Regions from separate parts of the Homo sapiens genome. Here all the other regions are linked to region 1. The links are contacts of gene promoters, found by promoter capture Hi-C in blood cells and fetal thymus (Javierre and others, 2016). All regions are on one chromosome and are shown on one strand. Each heading gives the region's core, a stretch centred on a gene start or on the middle of the fragment in contact. The rest is flanking DNA. Distances are from core to core; before and after follow the strand shown. Region 1 holds the start of GLRX2 (glutaredoxin 2). Region 2 has its middle 110 kb from the start of RGS1. Region 3 overlaps LOC105371664 (a long non-coding RNA gene). Region 4 holds the start of RGS1 (regulator of G protein signaling 1).

What was found. Contacts are between HindIII fragments. The CHiCAGO score rates a contact against its expected background, and 5 or more counts as called.
Region 2: a fragment that was not itself captured here is called in contact with the fragment with the promoter of GLRX2 in region 1 in 2 of 17 cell types (neutrophils and M0 macrophages); the score reaches 7.0 in neutrophils.
Region 3: a contact is called between a fragment that was not itself captured here and the fragment with the promoter of GLRX2 in region 1, in 1 of 17 cell types (M0 macrophages). The highest score is 6.2, in M0 macrophages.
Region 4: the fragment with the promoter of RGS1 here is called in contact with the fragment with the promoter of GLRX2 in region 1 in 7 of 17 cell types (M0 macrophages, M1 macrophages, M2 macrophages and 4 more); the score reaches 11.3 in M0 macrophages.

Annotation. Positions count from the first base shown.
Region 1 is chr1:193,103,797-193,107,007 of GRCh38, reverse strand. GLRX2 (glutaredoxin 2) reads left to right here and starts at 1,594. Exons shown (of 4, transcript NM_197962.3): 1 at 1,594-1,744. The coding sequence starts at 1,626. RefSeq lists silencers at 1,416-1,655, 1,435-1,729, 1,706-1,805. The HindIII fragment of the contact is 5,966 bases long and covers 1-3,108 here.
Region 2 is chr1:192,468,974-192,472,184 of GRCh38, reverse strand. No RefSeq gene overlaps it. Among named protein-coding and RNA genes, the nearest start is that of RGS1, 110 kb to the left of the region's middle. The HindIII fragment of the contact is 7,907 bases long and covers 1-3,211 here.
Region 3 is chr1:192,538,867-192,542,077 of GRCh38, reverse strand. All of the region lies in intron 4 of LOC105371664 (a long non-coding RNA gene), which reads left to right. Among named protein-coding and RNA genes, the nearest start is that of RGS1, 35 kb to the left of the region's middle. The HindIII fragment of the contact is 1,260 bases long and covers 1,026-2,285 here.
Region 4 is chr1:192,574,220-192,577,430 of GRCh38, reverse strand. RGS1 (regulator of G protein signaling 1) reads right to left here and starts at 1,658. Exons shown (of 5, transcript NM_002922.4): 1 at 1,502-1,658; 2 at 1,066-1,146; 3 at 596-657. The coding sequence starts at 1,638. All of the region lies in intron 3 of LOC105371664 (a long non-coding RNA gene), which reads left to right. RefSeq lists an enhancer at 1,734-1,813. The HindIII fragment of the contact is 3,705 bases long and covers 1-2,740 here.

The DNA of each region.
Region 1 (3,211 bases), core at 345-2,844:
AACATGATCGGTTCACCTCATAATGATCTTTATTTCATAAAACAATTTGAGATGAGGTAAAATTTGACTTCAAAACTAACATAACACCATAAATTTCCAAAATAGTTTTATAAAAAAATTAAAAAGCCCACAACACTATAGATAGATAACATACCTTAATTTTTATTTTATTTTATTTATTTATTTTTTTATGAGACGGAGTTTTGCTCTTGTTGCCCAGGCTGGAGTGCAATCGTGTGATCTTGGCTCACTGCAAACTCTGCCTCATGGATTCAAGCGATTCTCCTGCCTCAGCCTCCCGAGTAGCTGGGATTACGGGCATGCGCCACCACGCCCGGCTAATTTTGTATTTTTAGTAGAGACGGCGTTTCACCAATATTGGAGGGGCTGGTCTTGAACCCCCAACCTCAGGTGACCCGCCCGCCTCGGCTTCCTAAAGTGCTGGGATTACAGGACTGGCCACTGCGGGAGCTGCGGCAGCTGCGGCCTCTGGGTACGGGGTCAGCGGGCAGTCCTGTAATGGCCACATTACAGGACAGGCCATCGCGCCTGGCCACATGCCTTAATTTTCAAAGTCAAATTTGTCTTTAAAAAGAATGAATTCCTACCCTTTGGGGGTATTTATTTTTGCAACTAACTTCCATCCTTTTATTAAGTAATCAAACATAGCCCATTTGAATGTTGGAAAAGAACTGTCAGAAATACAAGTTCTTATTTTGTACTTTGGTAACATGAATTTTACACTTAGTTGAACATGAAGAATCAAAAAAGCTCTGGATTGTTGTAATAATTGTTTAGAATTTTAGATGTACCATTTGACCTTTGACTTTAAGATGAATTTCAGTGTCCTCAGTAAATAAAGGCTTACCCCCAACCTTAAATAGTGACGCACAAAGGCTATTATTACCACCACTGAGTGGCTTAAATAATCCTGTCAACAGCAATCGCCCATTTCCAAAGCCATGGTGAAACATCTCTGTGCTAATTTCTTTTGTTTTGTTTCCTAATTTTTTTTTTTTGGCAGGTGGTGGGAAATAATCTTTGTCTTCTTTGGAGTAAACCTTCAACACCGGATTTTTTCTTTTAATTATGGATGTAAACCCCAATATCCCCATAATTTACATTGGGTCTCGACCAATTGCCTAATTATAAGAGGATATATTTAGGCTCTTATTTCATCCACACAAAAACTTGTGTAACAGGTAGTTGGAAACATCTGAGGCACCACTTTGATTCTGTTTTGGATGGTCATGTTTTTTCTCCTCCGTTTCCCCAGCATGTCTGCCACCATCCTCATGCACTGCTTCCAAGTGCCTGGGAGCCTTTATGAGCGTCCCTAAACCTAAAAGAATCCAGAGGCGGGGCTCGGATGAACCCTCGAGATAAGCAAGTGAGCCGCTTCTCCCCTCTAAAGGATGTTTACACGTGGGTGGCACTCGCTGGAATCCAGCGCTCGGGCAGCCCTGGGAGGACGCGCTCAGCTGCGAGGAGGTGACCGGCGGCGGCGCGGGCAGTCCGGAGGGGCGGGACGGGGCGGGGCAAGGCGGGGGCCGGGCCGGAGGAGGCGGGCTCCCGGGATCCGCGGTGTCCGGCAGTAGAGCTCGCTGCAGATCCGGGCTCTGACCATGATTTGGCGCCGCGCGGCGCTGGCGGGGACGCGGCTGGTTTGGAGCAGGAGCGGCTCGGCAGGCTGGCTTGACAGGGCGGCGGGAGCTGCGGGAGCTGCGGCAGCTGCGGCCTCTGGGTACGGGGTCAGCGGGCAGGAGTGCCGCGGCGTGGTGCGCAGGCCTTGCGGGGGTCTGGAGAAAGCGGTGGGCGGAGGTGCCCCTTTGCCCCGGCGCCGGGTGGGCGAGGCGTACTAGCGCGTGGGCTCTGAGTCATAACACGCAGAGGCGCTCGAGGGATGGGCAGGGAAGGGTGCCCTCCGCGGCTGTGCTGACTTCAGGAGCCTGTGACTCTCGCGTTGAAAATACTTCACTCATGTTCACTTAGGCCATCCCTCTGTGAATTGCTACATAAAATACAAGACGCCGCAATCAATTGGAATTTCTCTGAAAGAGCGAATGATTCTTAGTCCAAGTGTGTCCCAAATACTGCAGTGGACATAGGAAAAACGGAACAGTTTTCTGGTGTTTGGTTACAATTCTAATTTGACCGGGCGTCCTGCATTCTTGTTTGCTAAACTTAGCCACCCTACTGCAGGAAGTGAAGGCGATGATTCCCGCTGAATGGCCAGAGCTTTTAGGATAGAGGCTGACTGATGGTGATGCCGCCTGCGGCTAGACCGAGGATAGTGCTTTCCTTACACTTCCTCGTTTGGAATATCAGCGGCTTCGGGACCTGCAGTGGAAGGGAACTGCGGCTGTGCTGCCCACGCCCGCGCGGCTGGTGCCTGGCGGTCCTGCCGGCTCGCACTTCCGCGCCTGCCACTGCGCACTTGGCCGGAGAGTCTGTCTCGCTATCTACTTGATCTGGGAGCTTCTATCAGTTTTGCAAGATTCTAGGAATCTCAAGTTTAACTTTCCAGACCAAGCTAGAGACCCCTCCTGAAGGGCTAATCACAGGCTGTTAAGTGTTTGACAGCTCTTTGAGGCCCCGCCGTGTTTTTTTCTGCGTATCCCTGGGGTCAATATAGCACTTTGCCTACTTAGCACACAGTAGGCGCTCCATAAATGTGGCATGACTAGGTGCTTCATCTGTGTTGAAATGAAATGTTTATTGTGCACTTACTTCCTCCGTGCATGTTTCTATTCATAGTTCGCGACAGTTTTTACCAAGGTCAACTAGAAATTGAAGGGAAAGGGTGTCTTCCAGAAACTTTTATTTGGGTAATATTTCAGAATGCACCTCCTACCTCCTCTCACTACCCAAGAAAACATTCTCTTGTGTTCTATTGGAGCTCCTTCAGTAGTAAATGCTGTAGTAGATGGTTTGGGTATGACAGTTTAAGTGCTGGACCTGAGATGAAAGGACTTGCTTTCTTAGTTGATAAACCAAATACAGCTTGCTGATTTATTCCACCAATGCTCTTCCTTAGGGCTAGGCCAGTGCTGCCTAACCTTTTCTGGTTTAGGCTTCAGGAACTCAACTTTCTTTTATCTTAAAGCTTCACCCTCCTCTCAGGTTGGCTGCAGTCTCCCTAGCTCGCTACCCTTAACTCCTTCCTGAGTTAAGCGCACAGGACTTTTTTTTTTGTTTTAAAGTGTTCCTT
Region 2 (3,211 bases), core at 219-2,718, 630 kb after region 1:
TAATCTTTTCCCAAAAGGGAGTTAAAAAAGATTGTTTTCATAGTCAGTGGACCAGCATCTCAATAAAGAAAAATATCAACAAAAAATTGATGATGCAGGAATGAGGTCATTGAGAAAGTTAAACTAGGTGATAAGCAGAGTCAAGTGGGATAGCAAGCCTTTAAACAGAAACAGGACACCTTTTACACACTACGAGCAGAAGAGACAGAGATTTGGGGTATATATGAAGATCATATTCATCTTTAGCTGATGCCACTTGACTATCTTTAAAAATCTTGTATTTTGAATTATAAGAGATCACATTCTTTGCTAACATGTCTTTGTGCTATCCAAAATTTGGGAAACACTGGGCTAAACAATTTTTTTTTAAACTTAAAAGGGTCTTCAGACCCTTTAATTTGTGCATGTGTATTGTGAATTTCCAAAAGAGAGTTTATAACATAGAGCATTTCCCAAACTGATTTGATCATATAAACATTTTTTCTTGAACTATCCATTATTCTTGTGGGAAGAAGTTTTCCAAGAAACATACTTTAAGAGATTCTAAATAAACAAAATGACTAGTGTTTATTTTCTTAAATTTAATTTTTTAGAGAGGACTTTCTCTTTATATGCTTTGTCGTAAATCTCATTTTTCTAGCACTCATACAAAATAAAGAGATTGGAGATAATATGGTAAGCCTGTAGACATATGTTATTTATAGTAATTTCTTAATCTTCCCTTAATAAACCTAACACTAATAGCAAAAGGACTACTTTTTATCTGATATCAAAAAATAAATAAAAATTTCTTTATTTACAAATAGAACTAAACATGTATCACAATTGCATATCACTTATGCTTTGAATATAGTAAGATCTGGGAAATTCTCCTGCCTAATATACTATAGCATCTTAGAAAGAGAAGTCATTTTATACGTACTTAGTAAATAAGTAAATAAGTGTATGATTTCCCATTTACCTTGTCCATTTATTATTAAATAAAAGAGACCCAGTTCACATGTGCAATTTACAAATTTGAAGTATCTATCTGCTCTATTGCTATATTAAAATGGTAGCAATTTTTTTTTTTTTTTTTTTTTTTTTTGAGACGGAGTCTCTCTCTGTCACCCAGGCTGGAGTGCAGTGGCGTGATCTTGGCTCACTGCAAGCTCCGCCTCCCAGGTTCACGCCATTTTCTTGCCTCAGCCTCCCGAGTAGCTGGGACTACAGGTGCCCACCACCATGCCTGGCTATTTTTTTGTATTTATTTTTAGTAGAGGCAGGGTTTCATCATGTTAGCCAGAATGGTCTCGATCTCCTGACCTCGTGATCCACCCGCCTTGGCCTCCTAAAGTGCTGGGATTACAGGCATGAGCCATAGCAATTTTTTTATGGTCAGAATATATTCCAGAATGGGTGAGAAGGAGAAAATAGCATTTTCCCTTCTCTAGATCAATCAAGAACCTTACTTCTTTTAAATGAAGAATTTAAGGAAGGCAGAACAAGATGGCCAAATAGAACTCTCCAGAAATTCCCCCCGCCATACCCCTTGTAAAGGGACACCAAATTGCACAACTATCTATGCAAGAAAGCAACTTTATAAGGACAAAAATCAGATGAGTGATTATAGTGCTTGGTTTTAACATTGTATCGAAATAACAGACATTGAAGAGAGTGGGAAAGACAGTCTTGCATTGCCAACACCACCTGTCCTCAACCCCAGCAGTGCCATGGAGAGAGTATATTGAGTGCTTGGGGGAGGGAAAGTGAAGTGATTGTGGGAATTTGCACTGGAACTTCGTTCTACCCTTTCACAGTGGAATACATATTACACATGGCAAAATTCTGCCAGTGCCCATGGAGGGAACATTTAAAACAGCCTCAGTCAGAAGGGAAACTCCTGCCCCAGGAGTAGGGGCCTGAGCTCCAGCTAGTTCCACTACTGGCTGACTAAAGTGGCATGGGGTCTTGAATACATTTGAAAGGCAGTCAGACTACAAGGGCTGCAGTCCTTGGGCAAGTACTGGTGCTGTGCTGAGCTCAGAGCCAGTGACTTGAGGTGCACACTTCCCAGTAAAACAACAGCTAGGGTGACGAGGAGAGTTTTTGTATCACCTCACCCCCAATGCTAGGCAGCACAACATGGAAAAAGAGCTTCCTTCAGTTTGGCAGAAAGTAAGGGAGGAGAACAAGATACTCTGCCTGGTAATACAGAAAATAATCTTGTATCTTACCTGAGCCCATTAAGGTGGTACAAGTCTGCAAGATTTGCAGCATTATCAGGTTTGGGGTGCACCCAGTACAATATGGGTGCAGTGACCAAAGACTTAGATCACAATACTCAATTTCCTTTGAATACCTGGAGAACCTTCTCAAGAAGGATGGGTACAAACAAGCCCAGACATTGATGAACTTCCAGAAGCATCAAGACCATCCAGAAAACATGAGCTCAATACACGAACTAAATTAGGAACCAGTGACCAATCCCAGAGTGACAGAGATATGTGATCTTTCAGACAGAGAATTCAAAGTAGCTATTTTGAGGGAGCTCAGTGAACTCAATATAACACAGGAAAGGAATTCAGAGTTCTATCAGAGAAATTTAACAAAGAGATTGAAATATTTCTTGAAAATCAAGGAAAAATTCTAGAACTGAAAAATTCAATTGAGAAACCAAAAAATGCATCATAGTTTATCAACAGCAGAATTAAGCAGAAGAAAGAATTAGTGAGTTTTAAGACAGGCTGTATGAAGATACACAGAGAAGAAGAAAGGAAAAAGAAAAAAGGAAATGACGTGAAGCATATCGATTAGATCTGGAAAATATCCTCAAAAAACAAATCTAAGGGTTATAGATTTTAAAGGCAAGGTAGAGAAAGAGATTGGGGCAGAAAGTTTATTCGAAGAAACAATAACACAGAAGTTTCCAAACCTAAAGAAAGATATCAATATTCAGAGATACAAGAAGGGCATAGAACACCAAGGAGATTTAACCCAAATAAAACTATGATAAGGTATTTAATGATGTAACTCCCAAAGATCAAGGATAAATAAAGGATCTAAAAGCAGCAAGAGAAAGGAAACAACATATAAAGGAGCTCCAATATGTGTGGCCACAGACTGCTCAGTGGAAACCTGTAAGCCAGGAGAGATTGGCATGATATATTCAAAGTGAAGGAGGAAAATAACCTTTATCTTTTATCAAAGAATATTATATCCAGTGAAAATA
Region 3 (3,211 bases), core at 406-2,905, 560 kb after region 1:
TTTATTGTTTGCTATAGGAATTAGATCTAGGCCAATGAGAGTCAATATCTGCTTTCTTGATAAACATTTTCCCTCTAAGCTTCCAACTCCGTATTTATTTATTAAGCTTAAAGTAACACAGAATGTCTTCATTATTATGCAAATAAATATTTCATTTTTGGATTTATTTAACAAATATCATGTGCCAGTTTTGTCCTGGGAATAGTACTTAGTACATAAGAAAAGCTGATGACTGTGTCTATGACAAGGAATCTTTAGTGAGGAAACAGACATGTAGACAACTTCAATATAAATCAGATAACTGGTTTGAAGGAGTAATGTACAGAATGCTATAGGAACTCAGAAAACAGCTTTCCTATGTCACCTAGAGACAGCAGGGGCCTCATGGAGGAAGCAGCATTTAAGCTGAGAAGCAAAGCCTGAGTAGGAATATTCTAGACAGTTTAATATGTGAGAGTGGAAGGATATTCTAGGAAAAGGAAATAACATTTCATATAACAACTGTTCTCAGTGAGGAGAACATGGGAACGAGATTAGACAGGAACATAGGACCAGTTGGCCACTGACCTCAAAGGGATTTGCAGGTATGAGATCTGTGTGGTAGAAACTACAAGTACTGCAAGAAGTCGGAGAAGGGAGGTTTCTTGAGGTACAGAGATGCCAGCTCTGTGCAGGGAGTAGAATTTGACTAGGACTTGTACTTGGAAAGACTGAAGGGAACATTGCTCCAGGTTTGGTGAGCAATGTGGACCACTGTCCAGAGGTTGTATCAGTGTGGTCCCCCTGTTGGAAAGTGAAATGTATAAACCTGTTTTTAGCAGAGGCACATTTTTGAGATGGTAAAATTAAAGCTGGACATGTTACTGGGACATGTTATCAAAAGCTAAAAATTCTGGGGGTCACTTAAGGCAGTAAGACAGAAAAGTGTAGCAGAAAATGCTGTAGCTGGGAGTCAGTGGATTCAAGAACTGGTGGGGTCTATCGTTGGTTCTGTAATGTTGGAAATATCACCCAGTCCTCAAGCTTCTGGAGCTATAATATATAAAATGAGGATTGTTAAACCTCATACTCTGTAAGGCCACTCCACTTCTAAGTTGCCATATGTGTTTAATAAATAGGGACCTGTTGAAATTTTTAGCGGGTTTTATTGTGCTGTTGTTATTTGGCCTTAAGAAGGAAGTATTAAGTTTAGGGAACTGGGATTTAGATTCAAGGGTTTTGAGTTCAAGTTTTGTTTCTGTCTCTTGCTACCTTCATGACATTGATTAAGAAAGTCATTTAGTCTTCTTGAGACCATTTTCTTATCTGTGAAGCTGGGATGATGTTTGCTTTGCTTAAAACATAGGTTGAGGATCAAATGTGATGAATATATAAAATATTGTGTGTTCTATAAGGTGCTACAGGAAATATTTTAAAAGACATAAAGTGGTAGACTATTATGGTAATCTTATGCGAGGAGATATAATTTGGAGATAAGTAGTACCTATGAGAATAGAGAGCTACAAACGTATAAGACATTTTGAATGAAATATAGATAGAAAATAGATAGTGACTTATCTTACAGGTTGATGAAAATGAGAGATGGAGAGAGTGAAGATGGCAACAGTGACTAAGGAGTGTCGACCACATTTATTTAAAATCTCTGTGCTGGTCACTGTAGAAATTCTATTTTAATGTGAATGGATAGTGTAATAAAGTAAGTTTTTGTGGTCTGGTTCAAAAGTAGGCCAAAATGAAAATTTTACTTGCAAATTTCAAGAAGCAAATGGAAAGAGAACCAGGCCTTAGAATATATTTGCGTTTCTGTATTGCCCACTAATATTTTTGTATAACACATTTTAAGTAATAAAAATCTGATAATTTATTTGTCCACCCTGGAAAGGAAAAAAAGATAAGCTATAAAGCAGTCTAATTTTATCAAACCATTTTTGGATACCTTATAAGTAAAGTCAGAAAACTAGAAGTGAAAAGGGAATGCTTCTAGAAACTGTAGTGAGGTCTGCATCAAATCCTAAGACATGTTTTTGCTCCAGGTTTCCTGCAATTGCTACCATAAAGGGAGCATTTCAGACCCAGTGCTCTGTAATGTGGTTTCTTTCCTCTGGAATTCCTCCAATCCTTCATGAATAGCTGGAGGAATGCAGACCTCTGGAGGCTGTATTTTACAGGTTGCTATGGAACTGTCTAAATATTATGAACAGTGCAGTGGTATATGACATACGACAGCCCAATGCCATGAAATTAGGGCAGCTAGAAATCATTTCCATACCCTTGAAATGTAAGCTTCTAGTTTAAAAGAATGGCATGAATGTTTTTCATAAATAAATTATCCTTTATCACACTAAGTTAGATCCTGGGTGGAGATAGGAAGTCTGGGACTTCAAAAGAGCTTTAGTTCAGAGAGAGGCCTGTAGACCCTAAGAAGCAAATACACAAGCAGGCCAGGGGAGGCCTAGTGAGGGGAAGGAGGAATATAAAACTTCGTAGTTTTCAGGATATAGATTGTAATGTTGATGTTACAAAGAGAACTGCTTTAAAAATCTCACTCCAAAGGTGTGCTTGGAGGTAAACAAGCTAACATAACTTCGGGATCAGGCAAGTCACTTAGAGCAAAAACGGGGCTTCCTCTTTCAACACCCTTTTTTTTGTGCTGTGAGACCCCCAAACTCTCAGCTACTCAGGGTTTGATGCTTGACTTTTTCTCAGATTCCAATAATTGTTTATGAAACCTGATTCAAATTTTAAGTCAGAAGTTACCCACCATAAAACATACCTCCCCCTCCTCCCTGGTTCTACTTAAGTTTCATTTAAATAAGAAATATAGCTCTCTGGGTACAATTTTTTGAATAACAGTTCTGTGAATGCTATTTGCTTCTGCAGGTTATGCCAAAGGCAGTTTCCTCTCTGAATGAATGTTTTTAATGTGCAAATTCAAAATACAACGAGCCTACGTCATAAGCTGCACTAAGTGAACAGAAACTAAGTGCAGCTGGGCTTTGTGGCTTTTCTTGTTTTCTTTCCTTTTTTCTCCCCTTCTTCAGACAGTTGCTATTGAATAGTTTTTTTTTTTTTTAATGAAAGAGGGTAAAACATTTCTCACAAATCCTTTTGCCTGCACCAAGAAATTCAAATTAAGCAATTGAAAATGTAAAAGGAACAAATAAGTTTTGCTTTGCAAGATGTAGGGGAGCCCATCTGTCTTGAGTATCTG
Region 4 (3,211 bases), core at 409-2,908, 530 kb after region 1:
AGACTATATGTGCTTAAAAATCCTTCTATCATATTTATGTCATAAAAACTATCATGTTATAATAATGCAATTATTTATGTTATGTATCTCAACCACCTTCAAGGCAGTAAGAGACTGTCTTTGATTTTGAATCCTTGGTACCTCTACAATGTCCTCTACATAAGGGTGAGATGAATGATGAATGTATGAAAGATAATTTAATTAATTGAATGAATGAATCATACTTGTTACATCCAAGTGTAGAAAAATACATTCTTTAGGCAGATTTCAAAATGGCAATGTACATATTAAAATATTTGGCTTACTTTTAAAATTTTTACATATCAGAATCCCAGCACAATGTTTAATTTTATCTCCATAATGATCTATGAAAATACCTAATTGTCTTGGCAAATTTGTCTAAAAGGAGTTGGCAGAATTGAGTGCTAAGTCAGCATTATTAAGAGGCATACTATGCTGAAGTTATCAGTAACTACAGACAAACTAGAATACAACCTTTTGCATACTATCCTACCCAGAATACTATATTTAGTGAAGCCATTCAATTTTTTAGAGTATTTAGCTGAACCCAGAAACATTCAATAGTTATACTTACTTTGGTTGGCAAGAAGTTTTTCCAGAGATTGAGACCATTGCATTACTTCAGCAGCAGAAAGTCTGCAGGGGACAAAATGTACATACATTAGTCAATTTTTAAAATGTAAGCACAAATGAAATAAGAATGGCTGTTACACTTTGATAACTTCACAAACTGAAACTGTAGTTCTAATAAATATGTTAAAATTTATTCACAAAATGCAAAACTTCCCTTAGAGTTACTATAGTTATGAAAAAAAAAACCTGCCAATAAAATTTGAAAAAATCCAAATAGATAAAGTCCAATATGTGTGTGTACACATTTGTATTCAATTTACATTGGTACTGATAGTCTAATTTTATTTGGCATGTTACTTAAAAGAAATGAAGTCTACTGTGCGCAGTATTTATCCCTTGCTGGGATATAGAGATAATGCATAGGCTTCTCTTGTAAATGATAATGATAGTTTAGTGTATTAGTGTACTTACACATCCTTGGACTTGGAAGATTTCATTCCAGATTCCAGATGTGGGATCATAGATCTCAGGTATGCTTTCATATCCATTCCACTACAAAAGACATAAAAGTGAATATTCATATTTCTTCAGAATTCATTTTATTTGTAAAAAGACATAGAATAAATTTCTCTAAGGAATAAGGCAATACTAAAAATGGTTGATACAACATTTTGCTATAGAACCCATTTTTATGAGCCTGTGTAGAGAAAAACTCCTACCCAATTTAATGCCATATCAAGATTTATTTTTTAATGCAGCTGAATATTACTTATTACTCACAACAGGCAATTAACTCCTCTGATCTGGCTAAACTAAATGCTCACACTCTCTTCCATTCATTCTCAATCCTTCTGCCATTAAAGATAACTTGTTAAAATTCACAAAGTGAGACTCTGAACAAACTTACAAAGTCTTTGGCCTCCTTTTTTGCATTTTGTCGTCTAGAAGTGAATGAGTGGTTCCTTTCAATTCCTTTGGGTTAGCAGAGAAGAACATTCCTGGCATTTTGTCTAACTTTGGAGTGGAGATGGCTGCTGCGCGCATGGTGCTCTTAGCAAATATGCGCTAGTCAACGTCTCTGCTGCTTTATATAGTAGAATGCAGACAGGCACTTGCTGTTTAAAGGAGTCTGTTTATCAAGTGATGTTACCACAGACACTGGAAGTTCCCCTTTTCTTGGTGTGCTGTGACGTGTATCTTGAAAAAAAAAAAGCATACAGTGGTGTCTTGTGGTTGAAACTTAACCAAACGAGAACAGGTCACTTGATTAGAAAGAAAGAAAATTAAACATACAGAGGTACACACACATATGTCACATGTCTAAAGCATTAACAGCATCAGTCTTTGGTTCTGGAGGATGTTTGTTTATTTTAAAAAAGTTGCATGTTTCAATAAACTGTTTCATTTGGCGTATTAATTTATCATATAGAAACTCACATAGAAATTCATCACATAGAGTTGTATCTTACTCCATGCTTTGGATAGTCCTTGACTATAAAATTCATCTGATCAAAATATTTTAAGAGTTCTCTTCTTTTCTGCAGGAAGCAGGGCAAAGTAAACAAATAATTTTTGTTTAATTATTTTGCACATATCTGATAGGAGGGAAAGTTATAAGAGGCTATCTTCACATTTTCCCACTCCAATTCTCATCCCTTATTTCCATGGCAGGAAATTTCCATGTTAATATTTTCCAAGGTGTGTGCTAGACATCGACTGGCAATACATAGGATGATTTTAAGGGGTGCATGGTTTTTAATATTATTTTCATATTTATTAAGAATATAACTAGTATATCAAACTTTGATTTTTGCATATTTTGCATATTAGGAAAAAATAAAGTTTAATTAAAACCAATCATAAATAAATAAATGTTTAATTGTATACAAATATGACATAATTTGTAAACATACTGATACCAAGGTCACAGTATCAGAGGAAAAACTGCTCAAGGTAAAATAAAAGTCTATTTGGATAGACCAATAATGTGTACTTCTTAGGTAATGATCTTTCACATTTTGGCAGTATCTCTGGAGAGATAACAGTTTTAGCTTTAATTGAGATTAAAGTTTAAAACACAAACAAAACTCAAGGAACTAGATGACTAATCATTTATAAGGATAGAGAAGTTAGTAAAATATAAGCTTTCAAAAGTTTATATAACAAGTGTGGCTTATTTATAGAGTACCCAGTTTAACTTAAGCCTCCTTGGATTTTACCCCTGGAAGGACAATACTTTCCTTTAAAAGGACAAAAAAGCATTTACTTAGTGAAGCTTCTGATGGTATTAGGTAAAGCTGATAAAAGGGAGGGGAGTATTAATTTTTCTGTTCTGGTTCTATCGTCAGGATAAAGAATATTTGAAGAAAACACATTTACAATATTATAAAATTCACTTATACACAGTCATTAATTTCATTATAATGAGCTCATTATATTGTATGTAACAAGCATCATTTTATGTTGGGAAGATAACATAAGGCATTAAGAAAGATAACTGGTGAGATGAGCTGGCCACTTTGGAAGTGACCCTAATGAGACCGATGAAACTCAAAGACAGATGACATAAAGGCATTTGGTTGTATACTTCCTGTGGTTCAGTCCATACTTAATTTCC